3 separate regions of the Homo sapiens genome follow, and all the other regions are linked to region 2. The links are contacts of gene promoters, found by promoter capture Hi-C in human tissues and cell types (Jung and others, 2019). All regions are on one chromosome and are shown on one strand. Each heading gives the region's core, a stretch centred on a gene start or on the middle of the fragment in contact. The rest is flanking DNA. Distances are from core to core; before and after follow the strand shown. Region 1 overlaps LOC124902658 (a long non-coding RNA gene). Region 2 holds the start of PAX6 (paired box 6). Region 3 has its middle 81 kb from the start of LINC03031.

Region 1 (4,042 bases), core at 128-2,627, 200 kb before region 2:
TTTCAGTTAAAGAAAACTCCATGTGCTTTCTCTCCAAGATGAATGTGTATTTCCCAGGTAAAGCTGGAGCCCCTGATGCACAGGAGCAGTTGAGAGTGGCCTGGGCGGCCCCTGCATTTCTGAGGCAGTCCCAGCAGAGAGTTTGCCTGTGTTGTTATGTGTCCTTATTCGTTAAGGATTCTCTGTATTGAGATGCAACCTAATTAGGGTTGAGCTCAAAGGCTGTTCATTTGGGGGCTTAGTTCATAAAAGATTAATGTTCATTTTCCCTGGGTTTTGTTGCAGAATTCAGCTGGAAAAAATCCAGGGTGCACTTCTTCCAAGAGAAGTAGCACTTTGGTGGTTTGTGAAAATCCCTTTTCCCTCATGTTAAAGCCTTGATTTTTATGTCTCCCTCACCACTTCCCACACTCCCCACCCTAGCATTTTGATTTCTGGTGATGTATGAGAGAAAAAAATGAATTCTGTAATCAGGGAAATCTGTTGGAGATATTATTCAAAGTGAACGTATTTACTTACAGACAATTTTTTAAACAGGTGGCAAATAAAACAAAGCACATAGGAAAACAGTTCCTCATTCATTCATTTATTTATTCTCTCATTGAGCAAATATTTATTGAATACCTGTTATATGCCAGGCACTGGGCATTTACATTATATATTTCATCTGATTTTTCTTTTTGTGATTTGCTTGAGCAATTTAATTCTATCATTAAAGTGATAATGTGAAGTGCTTCCTACCTATGAATGGGTAGCTTCCTATAGTACTTCTGCTGAGAGAAAATCATATCTATCCAATGAAACAAATGTTAACTGTATTTTCTGATAACAAAAGTAATATATGCTAGTGGTAAAGATGTGAAACAATATGGACCGATTACATTTAAGAAGTAGCCACCTTTCATAATCCCAACTCCTAGAGATTTCCACTGTTAATGGACTGGTGTATATTCTTCCAGGTTTCGTTTTAAGCAACAAACTACAATTAATAATACAATTTTATTTACAGAAATGGAAAACAGCACTTCTGTTATGCAACATGTGTTAGTCACTTAATAACTGAACCTATTGTGGTGCACTGTCCGTGTGAGCCCCCAGAGAACCTCCTTGTTTTAAATGGCTGCATGGTGTTCCATTGTGTAACATCTTTATTCTGGCAGTTCTCTATTCAGGATATTTTGGTCGTTTCTAATTTGCTATTATTACAAGCAATGCTTCAGTGGACCTTCTTGTAGCCACATTGGGGTGTTTCTACCAGTATTTCTGTGAATAGATTCCTAGAAGTGGAGTTAATGAGTCCAAGTGATGAGTGCCTTTTTTTTTGCTAATTTCTTAATTGTTGTATGAAATGTCAAGACCATTCACACAGAAGACATGTTGTCTTCTGTAATCCTTTCCCTCACACTCCTTCCTTTCTCTAGTTCCACTCTTCTCAAGATATTTTTAAAGCAAGGGTAACAGGTGTTTGGGAAAATGGCTCTCTAGTTTTGAAAGGAAGCAAAAGTAGAACATAGCTGAATCTTTCTTGCTCTGAGCAGCTCTAGCTGCAGGTGAATGAACAAAAATAGCCTCTTCCCTTCCCTGGAGTCAACGTCCTTGTGAATTCTTGCTGACATGATCATTCCCCTGGGAGGGCCAAAGCCTGGATTTGCTTTTCTTTATATTCCGTAGGTGACCTGGCCAGCAGAAAACAATAATAATCACGGATGTTTGTGGGGGAAAGCATCATTTAAGCTTAATTAGTGACTGTGTTCCTCAAACAGACAGTGACAGTTTGAGTCTCTAAAACTCCTTTGAGGTAATATTATCATTGCAGGATACAGCATCTTAGGTCAGATGAGCCATTTCTGTGTTTGATAAACTTAGGAATAGAGTAGCTCTAGTCCCAATTCTTCAACTTCAAATACTTATTAACATATGTATCTCCCTAAACCCTGCACTTTACTAGTATATTTTTTGACATTTCTCTGTTAAAACTGAAAACACATAGCTGGATACATTGTAGAAATGCAAATCTTATCTATGTGGATGTCTCTAAAATTTTACTTCTGTGTTTCTTGGGCCACATTTAAATGAGAGGTCTGTGTCATCACAATTAAAAGATCCCAAGAGGACCTTCTCAAGAAGGCTGAAGCCACTGCCACAGAGCTTCCTCCTCCATCCCTGGCTGATTTTGCTATCTCTGTCCAACAGAGGGCAGTCCATTTCTCTCATTGGCCTGTTCACGTTTGAAAAACGTTCCTTAAAAACAGATCATTCTCAGCATCTCAGAAGTCAAGCACCTTTCTCTTTATCGAAATCATTCTCAGCACACTTCTAGGAATTACACACCAGTGAATATTCCAAACATAGGACGGACGTGGAGATTTTCTTTTGTTAGAAATACCTCCATTGCTCAGAGTCAAAACTAGGAACTGAGCAAAATTCGTGTCTTAAATTTGTGTTCTGAAGTTGTTTCTTTTTGCCGCTTTGGTTTTCTGCTTTTGTTTTTGTTTTTGTTTTTCTAAGTCTCACTATCCTGGCAGGTCAGGAGAGTTGATTTTGAACAATTTGGAATTACAAGTAGTTTAATCTCTTCCCAACACTAGTCATTATCAAGTTTTTGCTGTTATCAACTTGGATATTTCTCACTGTGGGGGAAAAAGAGGTTAGAGGCCTGATGAGTCACAGGGCTGGAAAGGGGGCCGGGAGCGAGGACACTTTGTGTTGTTGACGGAAGGGCCCGCCACTCTTGGAAGAAGATTTGCCATCGATAACAAACAACCCGCACCGTTTCCCTTAGGTTGGCACAATGATGTTCAACATAATGAGACGTCGGGTCCAGTGCCAATCCCTCTCTGACTGCTGGTTAGAGTTTCTATCCTTCCAACTCCACCACAAGGAAAATAGTGCTGAGGAAGAAACTGTCCTGAGAAGTCTTGGGGGAGAGCAGGGGAAAAGGCGGAGGAGAAGAAGCACTAACTGCCAGGGCGGGAGCTTTGTCCCCTCTGGGACACCGTCCAGAGATGGAAACTGGCATCCCGACAGGCCTCGCCAAGGCCACCTGCTTACTGGTGGAACAACTGAGACTCCAGCTGGGTTTCCGTTGCTTTCACTCCAGTGGTAGTTTGTCCCCCAGGCCAGTCCCCATGAAGCACTCCTGGTGTTCAAATCCCTGTGCAGTCCCCTCCCACCCTTCCAAACAATCTGGATTGTACCTGTGACTCACCCATAACCAACAGGATGTGGCAGAAATCACACTCTACTGCTTCCAGGCTTTAAGAAGGCATAGCAGATTCCACTTGTACACTCTCGCAAGCCATCTACTGTGTAAGAAGTCCAGCTACTCCACTGGAGAGAGACCCCTGCAGAGGCCGTGGCGGGTGAGGCTCCTGATGAAGACAGAAACTACGTAGAGGGGCATGGAGGTGCCAGGTGTGAGGGAAGAAGCCATTTTCACAGTCCCACCCGTGGAGCCTCCAGATAGCTCCAACACCAGCTGCCGTTTGATTGCAACTGCATGAGCATCCCAAGCCAGACCAGCAGACTGTCCCACTGAGTCCAGTCAACTCACAGAATCATGAGAGACAATAATAAACTATTGTAAGACATTTAGACTTTGGGTGGTTTGTTACACAGTGTTACATGACAGAAGCGCTCCCCCTATTACTTTAGCACTCTCTGGCTGGATGGTCTTGATACCCTATGAGACATAGAGGCTGGTTGTCATGGGAACCAGGTTTCCTGCTCTGCTCCTGCTCACGAAGGAGGACTGAGCGAAGATGGTGCAGAGAATAGGTTCTCTGCTGCAACCCAGGAGTCCTCGGTTCTAGGCCTGGCTCTGGCATCAACTAGTTGTGTGACTTGTGCAAAGAAATGTCCTTACTTTAAAAAGATGATAATTCAACTCTTAGGGTGGATGCCACCTTTTCCTTTCTTTGTATGTGGCAGACATCATGAATCAATTGTGGTTTTAATGAGCCTAGACTTGGCTGCAGAATCCTTCTCAACACAGACAGCTCCCACCTTCTGATCAGAGTTGGCTCATCAGATGAATCCCGTT
Region 2 (4,029 bases), core at 1,530-4,029:
AGGAGACAGAACCTAAAGCGCAATCCCCGCCGCCCCCCCGCGTCTTGGAGGGCAGCAAGTGGGCCTCGGGCGTGTTGGTAGCCGCAATTAAAATGGCGACCTGCGAGTTGTCTCGGTTTTGTACACACCTCTGGCAACCGCGCCCGCACCTCAGTCTCGGCCCCCACACCCCTAGGCCGCTTCGCCCCCAGAGCCGGTACTTGGCAGAGGGAGTGAGGCTCCCCACGAGGTAGAACAGCACCCCCACCTTCCTTGAGACCAGTCCAGAGAGAACGAGGAAATCTCACTCTCACCCCTCTCTCCTTAAACTTTGAAAACTCGGCCTCATTCTGGGGTTGAACTCCCCTCCCCAAATATTGACACATGGGAAGCAGCCAAGTCCTTTTTGTTTTTTGTTTGTGCGGAGGAGTTTCCAGGAGTCTTTCCCGGAGCCCCCTTCCCCACCCAATGACGTCAGTGGCATTCACTCCTCGCTCCTTGCCTTTTCTGATTTTTTGTTAAAACTTTTCTCCGCAGCGAGATGGGGGTTGGAGGGGTGGGAGAAGGAGCTGATTCAAAGAGCCAGTGCCCTGGGGGGAAATAGCAACAAGATTACGGCTGCTTCTTTCCGAGGCAAAGCTTAAGAAGGTGCTAATCCACTCGGTCGCTAATTGAGAGGTTGTAAAAATGATACTCGCCTCCAGTTCGGACAGAATCACTTCCCCCCCCCCCGCCCCCCCGCAAGTCCCTCGCTCATGCACAGCGGACTTGAGTCTTGAGTCCAAGCTTCTTTAATGCTCGCTTGGAAAGTAAAAGGAGAGAGAAAGAGAAAGCCGACTTTCGCTGGTCTGGGACTCAGGGCCGCGGCCCCACTTGCCGGCATCCTCCGAAAGTCGCGCTCCTGCGAAATGAAACCTCGCCCAGGAGGCCGCGGACCTGGACACCCGGCGCCACCTCCTTCACCTCTGACCCAGGTTTCCTCCCGGCGCTGCGAGCTCCCGGGGAAGGGTTAGAGCCGGCAGCCCTCCCCAGCCCGGGGAGGGGAGAGGGTTATGCGACCCCACCTCTGGCTAGGGCCGGGGAGGCCTTTGCTTCCCGGGAGCCCTGCCCGGGCTCCTTGGTCGCAGGGCTGCTGGGTCCCAGGCAGGAACGAGAGGGTGAGGCCCACATGTGGCCCGGCGGCCCAGGGCGGCTTGCAGCGTCCTCACTGTCCCGGCTGCCAGGGGCTGCGGCGACGCGGCCAGTCAGCAGCGAGTTCAGGTCGCGCAGATTTTATTGATGAGCTCTGACTTTCAGCACTTTCCCTAAGTCAAGAAGAGTCTAGCGTACCCTTCGGCTGCTTCATTTCAGCCTCCCTGCCTCAGCTCTTCAGCCCTATTCCCCCTCGCCCTGTCCTGGGGTGTGTACAGCAGCCCAGGCCTTCCTTCTCCTTCCCGGCTCCGTGGCCCGAAGCCGCCGAGAGAGCTCGGGACAGCGCAGGACCAGGCAGCCGCTCGCTCTCCTGTCACCTTAACTGCAGGCTCCGAGGGGCGCCTTTGGAGTGTACTGAGGTGTGTCCTAATCGTGCGGCATTCAACAAATGGACTTCTGGTGTGTGGTCAGAAGAGAAAAGCCATTTACTTACTTTCCTCCCCGGTTTTCTGGCAACAGCTGAAGGGGAGCTGCCTCCGTGGACTGAGCAGACCCAGGAGAGGGAGTCGTGGTGCGGAGACACACGCACCACACACAGATGACCGGTGGCACACACGACACACGCTGACATACCGACATCGCCAGTGGGACACACACACACACACACACACACACACACACACACACAGAGAGAGAGAGAGAATCCCTCCCAGCATTGGTCATCCGCCCCCCCACCCAGGCTTCCACTCCCCCTCCCCTCTTATCTCCCCTGGCTTCCCCTCCTCTCGGGCGCTGCGAAAAGCAGCCGCACTTAGTCAACAAATGGCACGTGGGAGAAGTTGGTGAGTGTTTGGTGAGGACTCTTCAGGGCTTTTCACAAGAACCCTCTGTACACAAAGTAAGTGGCGTGTTTACTCGGGCCTCTCCAGCCAGAGCTGTGCCTCTGCTCCGCTGCGCACCGCGGCTTCCGAAAGGAGAAAGGAGAGAAGAAAGGGCGGGGAGAGCGGGGTGGAGGATTTGGACAGGCCCTGGAGGCTTGGGCTGGGGAGGCCTCTGGCCTCGTTTAGTTCTCGGCCCGGCAACCTCCTCTCGGCCTAGGCTTCGCCGCGGCCTCCGCAGCTGGAATGGAGCTGCCAGGACCCAGTGACGCTCCCGCCCCTTTCCTCTTCTTCCAAGGGGCCAGGTGGGCTGGGGTGCGGCCGCCGCTGTGCTCTGTGTCTTGGGGCCCCGGCTGGGATGGGGTGGGGGCGGGCGGGGGCGGGGCGGCAGGCCACGCTGTCCTGGAGTTGGCAAGAAAGGACAGCACAGAAACTTGCACCCTCCGAGGACTGGGAGTCCCGAGTCCAGCTTAGGGGGAGTGGGGGCGCGACCCCCAACCCAGAAACCTTCACTTGACCGCTCAAGTTCGCGGCAGCAGGGCGGGCCGCGCCGAATCTCGGCGTGCGCGGAGCGGGGAGATGCAGGCGAGCGCCAGAGCCCGGGCTCGGGGGCCCTGCGCCGGGGAGAGGAGCCGGGACCCACCGGCGGAGCCGAAAACAAGTGTATTCATATTCAAACAAACGGACCAATTGCACCAGGCGGGGAGAGGGAGCATCCAATCGGCTGGCGCGAGGCCCCGGCGCTGCTTTGCATAAAGCAATATTTTGTGTGAGAGCGAGCGGTGCATTTGCATGTTGCGGAGTGATTAGTGGGTTTGAAAAGGGAACCGTGGCTCGGCCTCATTTCCCGCTCTGGTTCAGGCGCAGGAGGAAGTGTTTTGCTGGAGGATGATGACAGAGGTCAGGCTTCGCTAATGGGCCAGTGAGGAGCGGTGGAGGCGAGGCCGGGCGCCGGCACACACACATTAACACACTTGAGCCATCACCAATCAGCATAGGTGTGCTGGCTGCAGCCACTTCCCTCACCCACACTCTTTATCTCTCACTCTCCAGCCGCTGACAGCCCATTTTATTGTCAATCTCTGTCTCCTTCCCAGGAATCTGAGAATTGCTCTCACACACCAACCCAGCAACATCCGTGGAGAAAACTCTCACCAGCAACTCCTTTAAAACACCGTCATTTCAAACCATTGTGGTCTTCAAGCAACAACAGCAGCACAAAAAACCCCAACCAAACAAAACTCTTGACAGAAGCTGTGACAACCAGAAAGGATGCCTCATAAAGGTGAGTCCGCTTCTTTCTTCTCGCTTTATTTTTATTGCAATATTCAGACAGGTCTCCCCCTTCCTCCCCCCTTCCTTCCTCCCCTCTCGCCGGTCCCCTCCCCCACTGCTACGCCGGGAGAGTTGGGCCGGAGAAGTTTCCACGCAGGAGCCCAAACTTTCTACTTCCAGCGAAAGCCCGCGTCGGAGGGCGACTGCCGGCGAGCGGGAGCGGCGCAGGGCTCGGGGCGGGCGGCCAGCTCAGCCCCAGCGCCAGCGCCAGCGCCAGCGCGGGCTGAGCTCGCGGGAAGAAGGGAGACTCCAGGCGCGACAGCAGCCGCGGCTCCTAGCCCCAGCGTCGCCCAATGCTCCCGACCCGCGGGAAAAGACGAAGAGGCTCTGTGGTGCCCAAGGCCCTGGAACGGCCGCAGAGAGCAACCGCTGCCGGCTGCTTTGTCCAGCCCGAGGCCCAGCGAACGCGCAGAGAGCGGGCGCTCCGAGGACTCGCCGAGGGAGCGCCGAGGGAACCTGCTCGCCGCGTCTCCGCCCGCCCGCCGGCCCTCGGGCTTTGTGCCGCACTGGGCTCCGGCGCAGAAGAGTCAGCCGGCACTCGAGCGCCGAGGGGGGCACCGCGCCCGCCACCAGCCCGAGTGGAGTCAGTCGGCAAGGCAGCCGCACGCTGGAGGTAGAGGGAAGAGCGAGCTAGCGCGAGCCGGGAAGGAAGCCACCAGGCCAAGGCGGTGGAACGCGCGCTCCGAGGGAGCTCAGAGCCGAGCGG
Region 3 (3,737 bases), core at 479-2,978, 150 kb before region 2:
TCCCCTCCTTCCCAGAAAGCCTTTGGGTCTTGACTGACTTACTAACTTTTATATTTGACAAGTACGTCAACAATTTTAAAAGCCAACTATCATCTGCTGCCAACATTTTAATACCAAAAGAATAGTCCTTTAAATGGAGTAAGTTTATTTTCAGTTAAAAATTGCCATATTATCTTATCTTTTCACATTTCATGTAGCCTAGAGAAAAGTATGGCCCCCACCGTATTTGAGGCCCTCTTATCAATATTGATTGTGGAGTTATTCACTGTATTTGTTACTGATGATTAAAGCAACAATATGTGTGAATGAATTTTAAGTAATTTTGGCAGATTCAAAGTTATCCCATGTGGTTGCCAAAATATGCCCCTCCCATACCCACTGCCGCCCCCAGCTGCCAACCCCAAAGATGTCCACAATCCTAATTCCTACAACCTATGAATCTGTTGTATCATATGGCAAGTAGAAACTGCAAATGGAATTAAGGTTGCTAATCACCTGATCTTAAAATAGGGCAATTATCCTGGATTATTGGGGTGAACTCAGTGTAATCACAAGGCATCTTAAGTGGAGAAGAGTCAGAGAGATGGCATAGGAGTAAAGACTCATCTGACCATTGCTGGCTTTGAAGACAGAATGTGGCCACAAGCCAAGGAAGGAGGTAGCCTTTAAAATCTGGAAAAGGCAAGCAAACAATTCTCCCCTAGAGCCTGCAGAAAAAGCATAGCCCGGCCGACACCTTGATTTTAGCCCACTGGCATCCATTTAGGACTTCTGAGCTTCAGAACTGTAAGATAATACAATCGTATTGGCTTAAGCCAACAAGTTGGTGGTAATTTGTTACAGCAGCCACCTGAAGCAAATGCAGATTTCACGCAGCCTGGAGAAAAGTATGGCACCCATTTGCGTTTGAGGACTTGTGATCTACAACAGTTATGAAGTCATTCACAAATAATTTGTTACTGATAATGATTAAATCTATGTGTGAATGAGTTTTAGCAATTTTTGAGCAGATTCAAGAGTATCCCTATCACAGTGTTATTTTCCAAATTGCTTCCCTGAGTGAAAAAGACGGGGTTATAGCTGGGGCTGAAAATCATACAGAAATCATGAACGCATTTTTTTCTTTTGGATTGAGCATTTATTTTGTGCTCAAGACTGTCCTCAGTGCTTTATCTACATAATCACAGTTACCCACCCACCCCCCAAAACCTGGAAGGTAGGTACTATTCATATCACTCATTTACTTGCCCAAGATAATGCAAAGCTAGTGATCGAGCTAGGATTCGAACCTGTCATCAATGAGGAGAGTGGGTTGGGCAACCTCATGCCACTGGATAGGTGTGTTGTCATAGGTAGAGAAGGTTGAGAACCCTAACCTAGCACAGGAAGCCACACCGCTGCATATATCAGGGCCGCCTGCCCTAGCCGGGCCATACAACACGTCTGCCACTCCACTATCATCAAGCTGTGGCACTCTTTTCCCAATTTACAAAAACAAAACTTTTTAAATAATAATAATTTCAATGGAAAAGCATTTCTCAAGTTAGCTTCTTCTCTGACACATTTCTCTTAAACTTTTGTTACTTGGTTACCATTGTTTGAGTGTCTACGTGCCAAGCACTAGAGGGAGTAAAACATATTATTTGTCATTAAGTCCTCACCCCAGTATTTTCCGTCCCTTTGACAGATGAGGAAATGGAGTTTCAGAGACGTGAAGTAACTACTGCAGAGTTAAATAGCCAATAAATAGCAGGAGACTCCAGGGCTCCACAGTCAGATGTAGCCCTAAATTATCTATTTAATCCTTTAAACTTAAAACGTTAATGCTTCATGGTTTTCTGCAAAAATCCCAGTGACTTCCAAGTGCTGGACCTGAAGATTCCCGGTCTGGCATTTGCTCTTTCGATCATGTGCTGTCCTCATATGCAGTTTATTTATTAGGCCTGAGACATTGCGACTTAGCTCCAAGTTCCCTTGAGGCTATTTTCTTGAGACTTTGGAGGTTTCAAGCAAATCAGGGATTGGCTAACAAAACATTCTAAAACAGGTGAGTCATGGTTAAGTCTTACCCATAAGAGGAAGCCAAGTGTAAAGTCTGAGGGGATTCAAAGGACTCTCCCTTTCTCTCCTTCCTCACCCTGAAACCTGGCTGTGCTCCCTAGACACGTTCATAGTGGCAAAGTCATGGCTGTTTCAGCATATTAATAGGACGACTCTGGGAGCGATAAAGGCCATAGAATGGAGCCACTGAGAGAAGCTTTTGTGTCTCCAAGACTCCAACCCCTTTGATGAAACAGATGTTTGGGCCAGGCCCTCCTTTACAAGGAGAGTTAAACCTCAGTAAACAGCAGGAAAACCTCCTTGGTGGCAATGAACAGCCCACACGCTGGTCTTCCCTAGCAGCAGATGGGCTGGGGAAGGGGTGGCCTCCTGTCATCAAGCCCTGTGCCACCCGCTCAGAGACTGCAGAGCTGGTGTCTGTGACACGTGGTCGGTCACCTTGGAGGCTTTGATTTACGGTTGACTTTGGGAAAGACCAGCCTCTGACCTTGGCAGCCTGTTGCCTCACCATCTTTTCTCTAGGTTGGGAGAACTTTCCATCAAGATGGATGCACATCCCAAGTCTGGCCCCATGAAGGAGCTTCCCAGAGACCTTCTGGCTCAAATGTAGCAGGAAGGCTTGAAATGAAACCCTTTCCTCATCTGCCAGTGTCCCTGGAGCAATCTACAGACAAATGTAGGAAAATCCAGGACTAATATTGCCTCATGAGTTGAAGCTCAACATTTGAGAGTGCTGTATGTATCATCCACAGGCCCATGAAGCCTTCCTGGGTTTACTCTGAAGCATCAACTGCCCCAACTGCACAGCCAGGCTGCTCGAAAACAAAAACAAAAAAAATACATGGGAGTTACCCAAGGATGATTTTTCTCAAAATCTGCCAAGTAGTTCATTCAGTTTAGGGTGTGCGTTTGGGTAGGGTCAATTATTTCAGCAAAACTGTGGATTTAGCATTATCTTCCTTGAACCAGAAACATCTGCATAGGATGTATAAGCCAACAGGCAGTTAGAAATGGCCGAACAGGTGGGTGTAAAGAAGAAAAAAAAAATGTGTGAGCTATATTTAATTGAATACCAAAAATAGCTAATACATACTGAGCACTTACCATGGGCCACAAACTGTGCTAAGCACGTCATATGTATCCCACTCAATTCTTGCAGTGATCCTCTGAGGTTGATACTCTTATTATCCTTATTCTGTAGGAGATGAAACAGACACAGAGAGGTTAAGTAAGTTGGCCAAGGTTGCACAGCTATTAAGTGCCAAGCTGAGATTTGAACCCAGGCAACCAGGCTCCAAAGTCCATATGCTAACTACTATGATCGTCTTTAAAATCTGCCTAAAAGTAGATGGACGAGAGAGTTGCCCCTTTAAGACAAGTTAATCCTCGGTGTTCAAATTGGCTGTCTATGTGCATGTGTGTATGCGCAAGACACACGACTGCACACACTGTGAACTGAAACGTTTGGAGCTCCCAGAACCCCCCTGTTCCCATCTTATGAGTGCAGAGACACAGCTCTTCCCTCCCCAGGCATTTTGGCAGGCCAGAGGCCCGCTTAAGCCAGAGGCCTTGGCCGGCCAGGCTACCGGGAGGTGGCGCTGTGTCACTTTCCTACTCCGGAGCTTTTGTTTTCTGCGGGCTGCACGCTGGAGGTGGGGAGGCCAATTTGAGCAGAG

What was found. The method cuts DNA at HindIII sites, captures the fragments that hold promoters and counts their contacts. A contact is called where the count stands out against the background at its distance.
Region 1: a fragment that was not itself captured here is called in contact with the fragment with the promoter of PAX6 in region 2 in 1 of the 25 tissues and cell types used here (H1 embryonic stem cells).
Region 3: a fragment that was not itself captured here is called in contact with the fragment with the promoter of PAX6 in region 2 in 3 of the 25 tissues and cell types used here (H1 embryonic stem cells, liver and lymphoblastoid cells).

Annotation. Positions count from the first base shown.
Region 1 is chr11:32,005,143-32,009,184 of GRCh38, reverse strand. It overlaps LOC124902658 (a long non-coding RNA gene), which reads right to left. Exons shown (of 2, transcript XR_007062645.1): 1 at 3,209-4,042; 2 at 986-2,630. Among named protein-coding and RNA genes, the nearest start is that of LINC03031, 34 kb to the left of the region's middle. The HindIII fragment of the contact is 3,311 bases long and covers 1-3,032 here.
Region 2 is chr11:31,810,072-31,814,100 of GRCh38, reverse strand. PAX6 (paired box 6) reads left to right here and starts at 2,779. Exons shown (of 14, transcript NM_001368894.2): 1 at 2,779-2,986; 2 at 3,086-3,273. RefSeq lists enhancers at 568-1,536, 2,884-2,941, 2,644-3,213 and a promoter at 2,587-2,996. The HindIII fragment of the contact is 12,830 bases long and covers 1-4,029 here.
Region 3 is chr11:31,958,234-31,961,970 of GRCh38, reverse strand. No RefSeq gene overlaps it. Among named protein-coding and RNA genes, the nearest start is that of LINC03031, 81 kb to the left of the region's middle. The HindIII fragment of the contact is 7,890 bases long and covers 1-3,737 here.